Regions from separate parts of the Homo sapiens genome. Here regions 1 and 2 are each linked to region 3. Evidence: promoter capture Hi-C in human tissues and cell types (Jung and others, 2019). All regions are on one chromosome and are shown on one strand. Each heading gives the region's core, a stretch centred on a gene start or on the middle of the fragment in contact. The rest is flanking DNA. Distances are from core to core; before and after follow the strand shown.

Evidence for each region. Contacts are between HindIII fragments. The study calls those that stand out against the background at their distance.
Region 1: a contact is called between a fragment that was not itself captured here and the fragment with the promoter of PRRC1 in region 3, in 1 of the 25 tissues and cell types used here (spleen).
Region 2: a fragment that was not itself captured here is called in contact with the fragment with the promoter of PRRC1 in region 3 in 1 of the 25 tissues and cell types used here (aorta).

Annotation. Positions count from the first base shown.
Region 1 is chr5:128,188,030-128,191,842 of GRCh38, reverse strand. SLC12A2 (solute carrier family 12 member 2) reads right to left here. Exons shown (of 27, transcript NM_001046.3): 27 at 2,166-3,813. Among named protein-coding and RNA genes, the nearest start is that of SLC12A2, 110 kb to the right of the region's middle. The HindIII fragment of the contact is 3,650 bases long and covers 1-3,360 here.
Region 2 is chr5:126,956,038-126,960,145 of GRCh38, reverse strand. All of the region lies in intron 1 of MARCHF3 (membrane associated ring-CH-type finger 3), which reads left to right. Among named protein-coding and RNA genes, the nearest start is that of MARCHF3, 72 kb to the left of the region's middle. The HindIII fragment of the contact is 3,661 bases long and covers 1-3,608 here.
Region 3 is chr5:127,514,728-127,519,064 of GRCh38, reverse strand. PRRC1 (proline rich coiled-coil 1) reads right to left here and starts at 1,425. Exons shown (of 9, transcript NM_130809.5): 1 at 1,289-1,425. RefSeq lists an enhancer at 1,248-1,427 and a silencer at 1,488-1,557. The HindIII fragment of the contact is 6,341 bases long and covers 1-4,337 here.

The DNA.
Region 1 (3,813 bases), core at 286-2,785, 670 kb before region 3:
CATATTTTGCAATTCATAAACCTTTTCTTGGAGCATAATTTTTCATCTCACTGTCACCAGCCACCTCCTTCCCAAACTGTCCTTGTCATCTTCTAAATTTCTTAAATAGTAACATTTCTTAGGAACTCAGAGGATAGTTTTCATGGCTTAAGCAAAAATGTTGTAAACTTAAAAATAATCTGTGACTTTCTGGTTATCCAAATGCATGCCTATAGATTGCTCCTTTTCAAATTGTGACTTCCTTGAAAAAATGGCTCAACTGAAGCTTAATTTAGAATGTAAAAGAGCAAATGTAGTATCTTTTAGTAGTTATACACCTTTATATGTACCTTATATAAATAAATATGAACAGTGCCTACTTAATTTTAAAACTGTCTTTTTTAGTATATCTTAGAGATATAATAGCTGGATATAAAGTCACCCTATAAATTGCTTGCTTTCTTAAGACGAAGTTAACTCTTCCAGGATGAAACCTCCACAATTCTCTACCTCAAAAGCTTCGGTAGTATTCTAACAAAATTCTGACAAGTATTGAGTCAGATTTTGGCATTCAATACCAATGGATCCTGATCCTGTTTTGTGGATCAAAAAAGTAAGCTTATTTTCATTTGTAGCTTTGGGTAGAATACACTGGTAGTTTGTATTCATATCCTAGAATCGTGGAACAAAGGATATGTGTTACCAATACACTATCATTTTGGGGAATGAGTTCCTGATCTGTGAGGACAGCAGCCACAAGGAAGGCTGCACAGCAGGAGGGGACAAATGCAGAGGCATTCACATTTTCCCTAATAGTTTCAAACTTTTACCTTGTCTAAGAAAAAATTAAAAGGTAGATTTAAGGAGGGAAAAAAATGGGCTGAGGTTCTTAATGCTATCATTTAACAGACCATGTTAAATGCCCATCATATAGGTAAAACAGGTCCATCACCATTGCCACCAGATTCCATACAGGACAATGAGACTTAGATCCTTAGGTATTCGACTACTACCAAAAAAAATATGTCAAGTTGGTTAACCCACCAACATGTTGTATTTATTATCTGAACTAGAGAAACTAAATAGTACTTTCTATTGAGCATATCCTAGAACTTGTACCATCTTTTCCCCAAAAGTTAAACATTAAACTACCATCTATTTCCTCTGGACCTACAAACTTCCTATAGGTACATAAACATAAAGAGGGAAGCATATCAAATGGATTTATCTTTTCTTCCTGGTGAGTGAACAACAAAAGCCTGCTGGCTCAAAGGTGAATGATGTTCCTGTTTTAAAAACTGTTGGATGGTCTGATATTAGAAAATGTCACATACATAGTTGCCTTCAAATTCTCTTTTAGCTTTCCAAATAAGTGAGTAAACTGGCCTGAATAGTGGCTTGAGAATAAGGAAGATGACAAATCAAAAAATGGATATTTACATTTTGTTTCAAACCTATTAAAGGCAGCCTGTAGCCAACCTATATTTCTAACTATAATTTGCCTTACCTGAACACACATTTACTGGGCGGACAGGTGTAAGTAATTTGGAAATGACCAATCTGGAAATGACCAATCTATCCCAGCCATCTATCTTATGGATCAGCCAGCAGTGAATGCATAATAAAGAAATTCCTGGGGATAAAAGACCTGGGCTCTAGACCAATATCCTTCCTTGATTTACCCCATGACCTTGGAAAACTCCCTAAACTGCTCCAAGCTGCTTTCTCAAGAGTAAAAGAAATAGCTGTCCTGCATATATACACACCTACAGTCATATTCAAATGAGAAAATGAAAATGCTTTCTAAAACTCTAAATGAGCTTAGACAAAAATCTTTGGAAGGAAAGAATCAGATTATATTCAGGGACTATGAATCGCTTTTAATCTTCCAGTTTCCTCATTCACAAATGAGAGATCTGGCCCAAAGATAAAGCAGAATTAGAAAAGCTAGGTCACTTAAAAAAATACCATAATGAGCTGCATCTCAGATGGTTCAGTCATACTGTGAGCATCAACAGTGATTATTGCAAAGGTTTAAGAATAGTGAACGACTTTTCCAGGGCGTGAATATTAAGGTAAAAGCTATTTTAAAAATTCAGAAATGAATGAAGCAATAGTTATCGAAATGAGATAAAACCACAAAGCTGGCAAAGACTTATTAAACAGATATAAGAATGGACATTAAATAGGTTTAATGAATCCACTTCCTTTATTGCAGTAACCTCTGTACAAAGCAGCAACTGCAATACTCAAGGTTAAAACATTAGAAAAGCATTTGTGTGACAGGTATATTACAGTATTATCAAAATATTACATTTTCAGACTTACTTAGCAGATAATCATCCACCAGAGCTTAAATCTTTAAATTATTTCCATAGTCTTAAAAAATATGTAATGTCAGAATGCATATAAAAAGAATGTAAAAGGAAACCTAAAATACAAATGGAATAATGTAACAAATAAATATTTGATTTCAGTAACTGTTAATAATCAGCTCAACACCACCATTCTCTCTAAACTCAATTTAATTCTTATAGGAATAATGAACTGTCAAATGCCATGGCATAATTATTTATTTCCAAGCTATCATCAATGATTAGAACTAAAAAAAATTTGGCATAAAAAAATCACAATTCAGCATAAATAAAGCTATTTTTAGCTTCAACACTAGCTAGCATCTCTAAGAATTGTTGAAATAAGTACTATAACCTTGAAAATTTTCGACCTGGTGTCTAGTGTTAAGTGAAAGTAATGCATTTTTTTTAAGTGAAAAGCTTCTTACATTATTTCACAGACAGTATTACCCACCCCACATTATGAATAGTTAGATATATTTTATGTACTTTATACCCACATGTATGACGCATGACATTTGGTTCCTGTAGTACAGATCACAATGTTGTTTTCCTGAATGGGAAAAACTTAAAAAAAAAAAAAAAAAAGGTAAGTGTACCTGTGCACATTTCAAGATAGCAGCACTCAGTCCATGCCCTATTATCCATCTTAAAAGTTCACACATTATTGTTTACTGAATAATATTTCTACTGTCTTTACCCCCAAACATTGCAAAACCTGCAATGGAACAATGCTGTGAGTTATAATGTAGAAATTTTTTTTTTTTTTTTTTTTAGAAAATCAGTTACTTCATTTTCTTAATATTCTGAATTCAAGTTATCAGATCTCTATACCTAGGTCATACTCATGAAGCAAAAATGCTGCACACCACTGAAAATAATAACGTTATAGATGTCTATCAAGATTCATGAAAACCAGCCAGGCGCAGTGGCTCGCACCTGTAATCCCAGCACTCTGGGAGGCTGAGGCGGGTGGATCACAAGGTCAAGAGATAGACACCATCCTAGCCAACACGGTGAAACCCTGTCTCTACTCAAAATACAAAAATTAGCTGGGCATGGTGGCGTGCACCCGTAGTCCCAGCTACTAGGGAGGCTGAGGCAGGAGAATCGCTTGAACTGGGGAGGTGGAGGTCGCAGTGAGCCAAGATCACGTTACTGCATTCCAGCGTGGCAACAGAGCAAGACTCCGTCTCAAAAAAAAAAAAAAAAAAAAAAAAGGATTCGTGAAAACCTGCATAAATTTTCCACCACAGAAACTTGTATCAATTAACCCACTTAACAGTATTTTAGGCGAAGTATTCTCCATTTTTGAACTGGAAAATTGTGTGAAATTACAGCATGCCCTTCAAATGATCACCTTTGTTCTCTATGAAACCTGTATCTGTTAATCTGATTTTGAACATATGTTTACTTAAACCAAAGTTTGCCTAATGAATCTTGATCACTTTAAAATGCAAAATACCAGCAACATAAATTT
Region 2 (4,108 bases), core at 529-3,028, 560 kb after region 3:
ACGTTCTTGCTGGATTTACTCCAAGATGGGTTGAAACCAGGCTGGATCAAACCGTTGTATGGACCGTTGGAAAGATAATTAGCAGGGAATATCACACAGCTTGACTTCATAGCATTCTAAAACTCTAACTCAAACCCCTCCTGCTGCAATTTATGCCCATTTCTTCTTGCGGTTTTCTCAGAGGAGCTCTTAGAGCATAACTGAGTGCCTTCGGTGGAACTATAACTAACTAATAACCTAGGAGACAAAGGTACATTGGTAATTAGTAGAGGAAGTGCTGCTGGTCGGAATACCAAGCAATGCTTACTGTCTATTAGTTACTGAGTTGTTTTCCATGGAGGTATAGTAATTACGGCTTTAAGAACATTCAAAAATTATTGGCCGTGATCATTTAAGGTGTGATTATTTTCTAAATAAACTCTTTTTTAGAACAGTTTTGTAGTGACAGGAAAAAATTGCTAAGATATTACAGGGATTTTCCCTATTCCTTGCACCTTCTTTCCCCTATTATTAATGTCTTACATTAGTGTGGTATATTTGTCAGAACAAAGGACCAAGATTGATGCATTATTATGATATTAGCTAAAGTCCATACATCATTCATATTTACTTAGATTTTACCTAACATTCTTTTTGTGTTTCAGGATCCCATCCAGGAGCCTATGATACATTTAGTTTTCATTGCCTCCTTGGACTCCTCTTGGCTGGGATAGTTTCTCAGACTTTCTTTGTTTTTGATGACCTAGATAGTTTTGAGAAATGCTGGTCAGCTATTTTGTAAAAAGTCCCTTTTTTGGGACTGTTTGGGATTTGTTTGCTGTTTTTCACATAAATAGACTGGGATTATGGATTTAAGGGAGGAAGCCCATAGAAGTAAAGGGCTATTTTTCATCACATCATATCAAGGAAACATACTACCAACATGCCCTATCACTGTTGATGTTGACCTTGATCACCTGGCTGAGGTAGCGTTTGTCAGGTTTCTTCATAGTAAAATTATTCCTTCCCCCTTTCCATACTATAGCCTTTGGAAGAGATGGCCTATACTCAAGGAATAGGGAGTTACGCTCCACTTCCTTATGGTCAGTGTTGGTCAGTGTCCACATAAATTATTTGGATTTCATCTGCACAAGAGATTTGTCTTTTCTCCCCCTTCCCCTTTATTTATTCAATCATTTATTTAAAGCAGTGTGGACTAATGGGTATTCATTTTATACTTTGGCAATAATATAATACTTCACTTATTTCGTTACTTAGATTGTTCCACTGTTGGTCATTAGTGGTAGCTCATTCACTTGGATCCTATGTTGCTTTAAAATAGCCCCATCATTGTGGAGTTAGGTTTGTTTTAATTGCACATTACACTTAAAAATCAGTCAAATGGCCGTTGTCAACTTGTCTCCTCTGTGTGCCAGGAATCAATCAATTTCTATTCAAGTAAACAAGTGGCATTTTTAAAAAAAAAGTCACATTTGATTATTAACTAGAAGAATATTCAGTACCCTTGATCTGTCTTCTATATACTTCCCAGTCCTGACACCCTTTTTGGATTCAAAGATTAATTAATTTAAAGGCAGTGATGAGCAGATTAGATCAGAAGTAACTAGGGACCTAGAATGGAATATGAAGAATTAGATCATGAAAAAGAAAAAATACAGAATACAAAAGCAGTGGGCTTTTAGAAGTTTAAGAAAATTGAACTCTGTAAAGAAAAAGCTTTAATTCAAGAAAAAGTAAGCAAGCTAGACCATTTATTAAACTAATATACATCTTAATATAATCACTTGTCTTGGCCAGAGAAACAATATAGAGGACGGTTAATGGTAAACTGGAAGCACCTTATTAAAATCAAGTAACCTTATTAAAATGTAAAACAAGACAAAGATATTCCCTGTCATCATGATCATTCAGTATTATTCTGGAAGCTACTGCCCATCTAAGAAACAGAAAGCAGAGAAAAGGAGGAGAAAGATAGCCATGATTTGTATGTTATATTTCTGTTTACCTAGAAACTTAAAAGAATCAACACAAAGTAATAAATAAAAATTTGATAATAAAAATCTGTATACAAAATAAAACTAAAATCAATAGCTTTCCCGTGTATGGGCAATAAGTAGTTATAACATGTAATGGGAAATGTCCCATTTACAAGAGTATAAAATATTCAGTAATAAATCTATATTTGGAAAACTAAAATACTGAGCAAAATAAAAGAAAATTTGAATAAATACTATGTTCCTAGATGAGAAAACTAAATATTTGCAAGACACAATTCTTTCTATATTATTGTTCAGCTTAAATACATTTTTAACAAGGTAACAATTTTAGATGATGATTTTAAAAATATCAGGAAGGATAAACAACAGAAATGATGAGTAAAATCTGAGCACAGTAATGTTGGGAATCTTCCTCTACCAGTTATTAAAAATGAATTATAAGTCTATAATAATTTTTAAATGTGATGTTTTACAAAAATAGATTAATGAAGCAGAATCTAGGAACAGATTCAAGTATGTATAAGAATTTACTACAGATAAAGATGACATATAAATAAAGAAGTTATCAAAAATAAGATTGATCCAATTGAGAAACCATTGGGAGAAAATGAAAGTTACTTTTTAACATCATGCAATACACCAAAATAAATTACAAATGGATTGAAGGTTTTATGAAATCATAAAGCTATAGAAAAATCTAGGATGAGTATTTATCTGCACTTGGAAGTACAGGAATGATGGAAGAGACTGCAGAAAAAATGATTGATAGGTTTAACTTCTAAAGCTTATGTGTCAAATAGCCTGTAAACAAAATTAGAAGACAAATAACTGAATGTTTTTAAAGTTAAACATATGTGACAAAAGGTTACTATCTTTAATATATACATGGAATTCTTAAGCACCACTAATAAAAAGGCAAAAAATATAACTCAATAGGAAAGTAAGGAAAAGACATGAATAGACAAATAAAAAAGACTAAATACTATGGCCAAGAAACGTGATAAAGTTTTAAAGGAATATTTATTACTTAATGTATATTTACTAAAATGTTTATGTCAAAAAAAACTCTAATAAAAGAATACCATTCTTAGCCGGGCACAGTGGCACCATGGCATGTGCCCATAGTCCCAGCTACTCAGGAGGCTGAGGTGGGAGGATCACCTGAAGCCAGCAGGTCCAGGCCAACCTGGGCAACATAGTGAGACCCCATATTTTAAAAAGAAAGAAACACCGTTCTTAACCTGCCAATTCAAAGAGATGTTTTAAATGATAAAACCTAGTCATGACAAAGATTTGGTGAAATGGGCAGTTTCGTTCAACTACTGATGAAAGTAAAATGTTCACAGAAAATGGAAACTTTTAGTGAGGAAGGCATTAGTGGAAAGTGGATTGGGATGCAGGTTAAGATCTGAGTTCAAGCTTTCTGGGTTTTTTTTTGTTATTGTTTGTTTTTTTGTTTTTGTTGTTGTTTTTTTGGTTTTTTTTTTTTTTTTTTTTTTTTTTGGAGACAGAGCCTCACTCTGTTGCCCAGGCTGGAGTACAGTGGCGCAATCTTGGCTCACTGCAACTTCCACCTCCCAGGTTCAAGTGATTCCCCTGCCTCAGCCTCCCAAGTAGCTGGGATTACAGGTGCCCGCCACCACACCTGGCTAATTTTGTTTTTTTGTATTTTTAGTAGAGACAGAGTTTCACTGTATTTTCAGGCTGGTCTCGAACTCCTGGGCTCAAGCTATTTGCATTCCTTGGCCTCCCAAAGTGCTGAGATTACAGGCGTGAGCCACCATGCCTGGACCTAGTTCAAGCTTTCTAATTGTCTTGCTGTGTAAACCTGAATGGGAAATATAAGATCTCTGCATCTTTGTTTCTTCATTTATAAACAAAGAGGCTTGGTTTAAAAATATCTTCAGGGTAACTGAAGACAAAAGAAATCGTTAGGTTGCGGTACAGATGGACAATTTGAGGACTAGAAGAAAACTGTTTAAAAACAGGTTCTGACAAAAATCTGAGACCTATTCATTTTAACAGTGTAGAAACTCCGAAAACAATCTCCAAAATGTATGTGGGAATTTGGCATAGAGTAGACAAGGCATTAAAAATAAGTGGGAAAAGAA
Region 3 (4,337 bases), core at 176-2,675:
TACAAAGTCATTAAGTGGAATAAATAATCAATTTCTTTGTCTTTAATGGCTTTTTATATGAAAACTGCCGTAATGGCAATACTGAGGTAAATTTTACATGCATAAACATAGTGCCTTCTACTAAAAAAACCTATTATGATAAAACAATACTGAAGTGTCAGAGTTGGTAACTGTTTTAGGGCTCAAGTCTTGTCACGAAAAGTACTATTCATATATCAACACTAAAGAAAAAGTGAAGAAAATGGTTTGGAAAACTGAGTTCTCAGTCCGGCTAGACCCTGTTGTTCCAATTTGCTTGTGCCTTGGTTTTTCTGTTAAAAAAAAAAAAAAAAAGTGGATGTCTATTTACAAGTTTACAAGAAATGGAAGAGTGAAGCTCTGATAAACTTTAAAGCATTAAGAGCAATTATTGCTGACCTACTCGTGCCACAAGATTGTCTCTACTACCAAACAGTGAGCGCTAGTTAGAGCCTAATCTGACCCCGAAATAAAATTTTATAAATTTTCACTGAATTAAACACTGGCTGCACAGGAGAAAGACTGAATGCCAAGATGTGTCACGATCGCAGAAATGCACATGTTGTCTCTCAAAATAACTACTTCGAATGACAAAAACACTATTGGCTATAAATTCTGTCAATCTAGGAAACGTGCTATCTGCAAATTTGCCTGAAGCAGGTCCCAAGACCAAACAAAGAAACGAGAGAATGCAAAAACTCTCCCAAGCGGCGCTAAGCACCGATGGGGTAACCTCAGGGAAAATAAGCTTCCTTTCATTGCAGGTCCTGGTGTGATGACTCTCGAGCCTCCTGGGCCTCTCCAGGGCCAGAGCGGCCGAAATCCTGTTTCAGGAGACAGCGGCTTCCCCTCAGGCTCTGCCACGTCTCCAGGCCAGACAGGGCCGGGCTAAGGTCCGCCGGCGCTCCCGCCAGTCTCCCCTAAAGTCAGCGCCCTGGAAGGTGGGGCCAGAGCGCTCCTGCCTTGGTCCTTGGACAGGAGCAAAGTGTCGCGGGGCGAGACCCTCGAACCGCGCCCACCGTGCCATCCCCAGCGGAAACTGCTCACCTTGCGATGTGCACTCCTGCCTGCTGCACCCCGCACGCCGCCACAGCTGAGCCTGGACCACGGGACTAGGGGGCTCGCAAACGACATCGGCGTCCAGTGGCGCCGGCCGGCCCGCCCACCTTCCAGGGACACCGTCCCTCGGGGTCTGGCTCTGGCGCCTGCAAGCCATGCCATGCCATGCCACCCCCCTCATACACGCCCCTCGGAGCCACCTGGCGCTCACCTGGGGACCGGGAAAGTGCCTGCGTGGTCGCTGAAGAGTGTGGTATGATAGGGAGGTCGGGACGTAGAACTACAGCTTGGAGAAGACAACGAAGGCGCACCCTGGAAGTTACCTCGGCGTGTCCCCGCCTACAAGATGGCCACGGGCGGCGCATGCTCCTGCGGCTGCCACGTCGGCCGCGCGCCGCACCGCGCCGCGCGTCGCCGCCCCGCCCCGCTCCGCCCCGCATCGCATCGCCCCGCTCCGCCTCCGCATCGCCCCGCCCCCCCTGTCCCATGCGCTGTGAACCCGGCCGGGACGCTGCAAGTTAAACTTTGGAGCCAAGATCTTCCTAACTACCGAGACTTGGTTCTGCCCACACCCTCTAGAAACATCTTCCAAAGGGCTGGCCTCCTTTCTACTTCGCAGCCCCCTTACACGAGAGTGGCACTCTTGTTACCAGGCGTAGCTCACTCATCCTGTGCCACAGCGGCCCAAGGGATAAGATCAGTTAGCCAAGGTCATCTGGTTGGCGGTCATCTAGCCAACATCAGCTAGTCCAGTCAGCACCTCCAGGAAGGACCTCGCGGCAGATACAGGGGACTTAGCCTGTATAGTCAAAGATTTCCAGATAACAGTGATTATATCAGGAGAGAGGGATTAGGAGAAGAGGGAGAGGGGAGAAGAGTAGCAGTTACTGTACTGAATTTTTCCCCAAGTGCATGTATTGCACATTCTTTTTTTAATTGTAAAATAGACAGATTATCAACTTTCTTATTATATGCTGCACCTAACACAGTACCTGAAATAGTTGGTGTTCAATAATGTACATTAAATAAATTAATGGAGTGCGATAGAGGAAAATAAGGAACTTCAAATCAGAAGTCTTGATTTGAGTCTGAGACTACTCTAATGCCAGTTGTACAGTTGCCTGCCCTTGTACAGGTCACTTAGTCTCCATAAGTCTTCATATTTCTACCTGCAAACTGAGAATAATACTATCCACCATCCCTAAATCAGGCAGGTGACAGACTCAAATAAAATAGAGCATATGAAAATTTTTTAAACTTTTTGTCTTTTTGAGATGGTGTCTTGCCCTGTTGCCCAGGCTGGAGTGCAATGGCGCCATCTCGGCTCACTGCAACCTCTGCCTCCCGGGTTCAAACGATTCTCCTGCCTCAGCCTCCCGAGTAGCTGGGATTACAGGCACAGGCCACCACACCCAGCTAATTTTTGTACTTTTAGTAGAGACAGGGTTTCACCATTTTGGCCAGGCTGGTCTCGAACTCCTGACCTCGGCCCGCCTCGGCCTCCTAAAGTGCTGGGATTACAGGCGTGAGCCACCGCACCTGTCCGAAAACATTTTTTAAATTGCTTAGCATTAAATATATAAAAAATTGTTTTTGTTGTTCTCAATTTTTTTTCAGGAACTCACTTAGAGATTTCACATTAATCTATCTCTTGAGCTTCACAGTTGTAAGCATTCCAAAATACCTCACTGAAAAGTTAATACTATGTAGCAATACTCTGACTTCAGATCTCACTGTGCAACTACCATGGGCGGTTTTCTTTGGCGGTGGCTCCTATCCTCTAAGAATGTGTGTAGGTGGAGATCCAGGTTACTGTCCGGATCGTGCTGTTTGGGGTGGTGCTAAAGACAGATAACCATCTTCATCCTCTCTGATCAACACCCTTAATAGCTATAAGGTATGTTGGTTTCTCCATCCTTTCAGCAAATATTTATTAGTGGCTGCAATGTGCTGAGCATTGGTACTGGAAATGCAGTAACGAACAAGACAGACAAGGTCTTGATACCTAGGGAGCGTTCTTTATAATAGGAGAGAGGGTAGGAACAGGAAAATAAAGTAAGTACTGTTTGTGATGTGCAGTTTGAGGAGTCAACAAAGAGTGATGTAATATTGACAGTAATTGGAGTAGACCACTTCAGATAGGATGAATGGGCAAGGCTTCTCTGAATAGGTGAGATGTGAGCAGAGACGTGTAATGCAGCAGGCCTGTGCTTATCCGGACAGAAAGAAGGGCATGCAAAGACTTAAGGATGGAGTGTGCTCGGCATGTGCGCAGACAACAGGGAAGCAGGACTGTGAGAATGGTAAAGAAGACAGGACAGGGAGTGGGGCCAGATCGTGTCTAGCCTTGTAGGTCATGGGAAAGCCTTTGATTACACTCTGAGAGAAATGAGAAGCACGTGGAGGGTTTTGAGCAGAGAACTGACAATATTTGATATCAATTTCTGATCACACTCTGATTGCTGTGTGACTGCAGTCCATGTGAGGATGAGTGCAGGATGACCAGTAATGAGATGATGATGGCTTAGTGTCCCTAATGGAGGTGGAGGTGGCACACGGTCTGGATGTATTTTGAAGATGGAGCTGTCATGATTTACTGATGGGTTGGGAGTAAGCTGCATTAGTTTCCTAAGATTATCATAACAAATTACTGCAACTAATGTTTTCGTTGGCTAAAAACAACAGAAATTGATTCCTTCACAGTTCTGGGGGCTAGATGTCCAAAATCAAGGTGTCAGCAGGGCCTCTCCAAAGGCTCGAGTGGAGAATCCTTCCTTGCCCCTTCTAGCTTCTGGTGGCTCCAGGTGTTCTTTGGCCTGTGCCAGCATACCTCCAATCTCTGCCTCTGTGCCAGCACACCTCCAATCTCTGCCTCTGTCTCCACATGGCCTTCCCCCCCATGTCTCTGTGTCTCAAATCTCCTTCTGCCTTTCTCTTATAAGCATACTTCCTTATAAGTGCATACTCATTCCGCTAAGGCCCCACCCTAAATCCAGAATGATATCATCTCAATATATTTGTAGGTCTTATGAAGATCCTGTTTCCAAATAAGTTCACAGTAACAAGTTCCAGGTGGGCATATCTTTTTTGGGGGGTGGGCACTATTCAACCCACTACATGGACAATGAGGTAAGATGAGCTTTGAAGTTAACCTTGATTTACATTTACTATATTTTATGTTTTACTTACCACTTTTCATTTGAACTTCAAAAGAACTATGTGTGGCAGGTATTATTATTCCAGTATTAGAAACGTGGAAA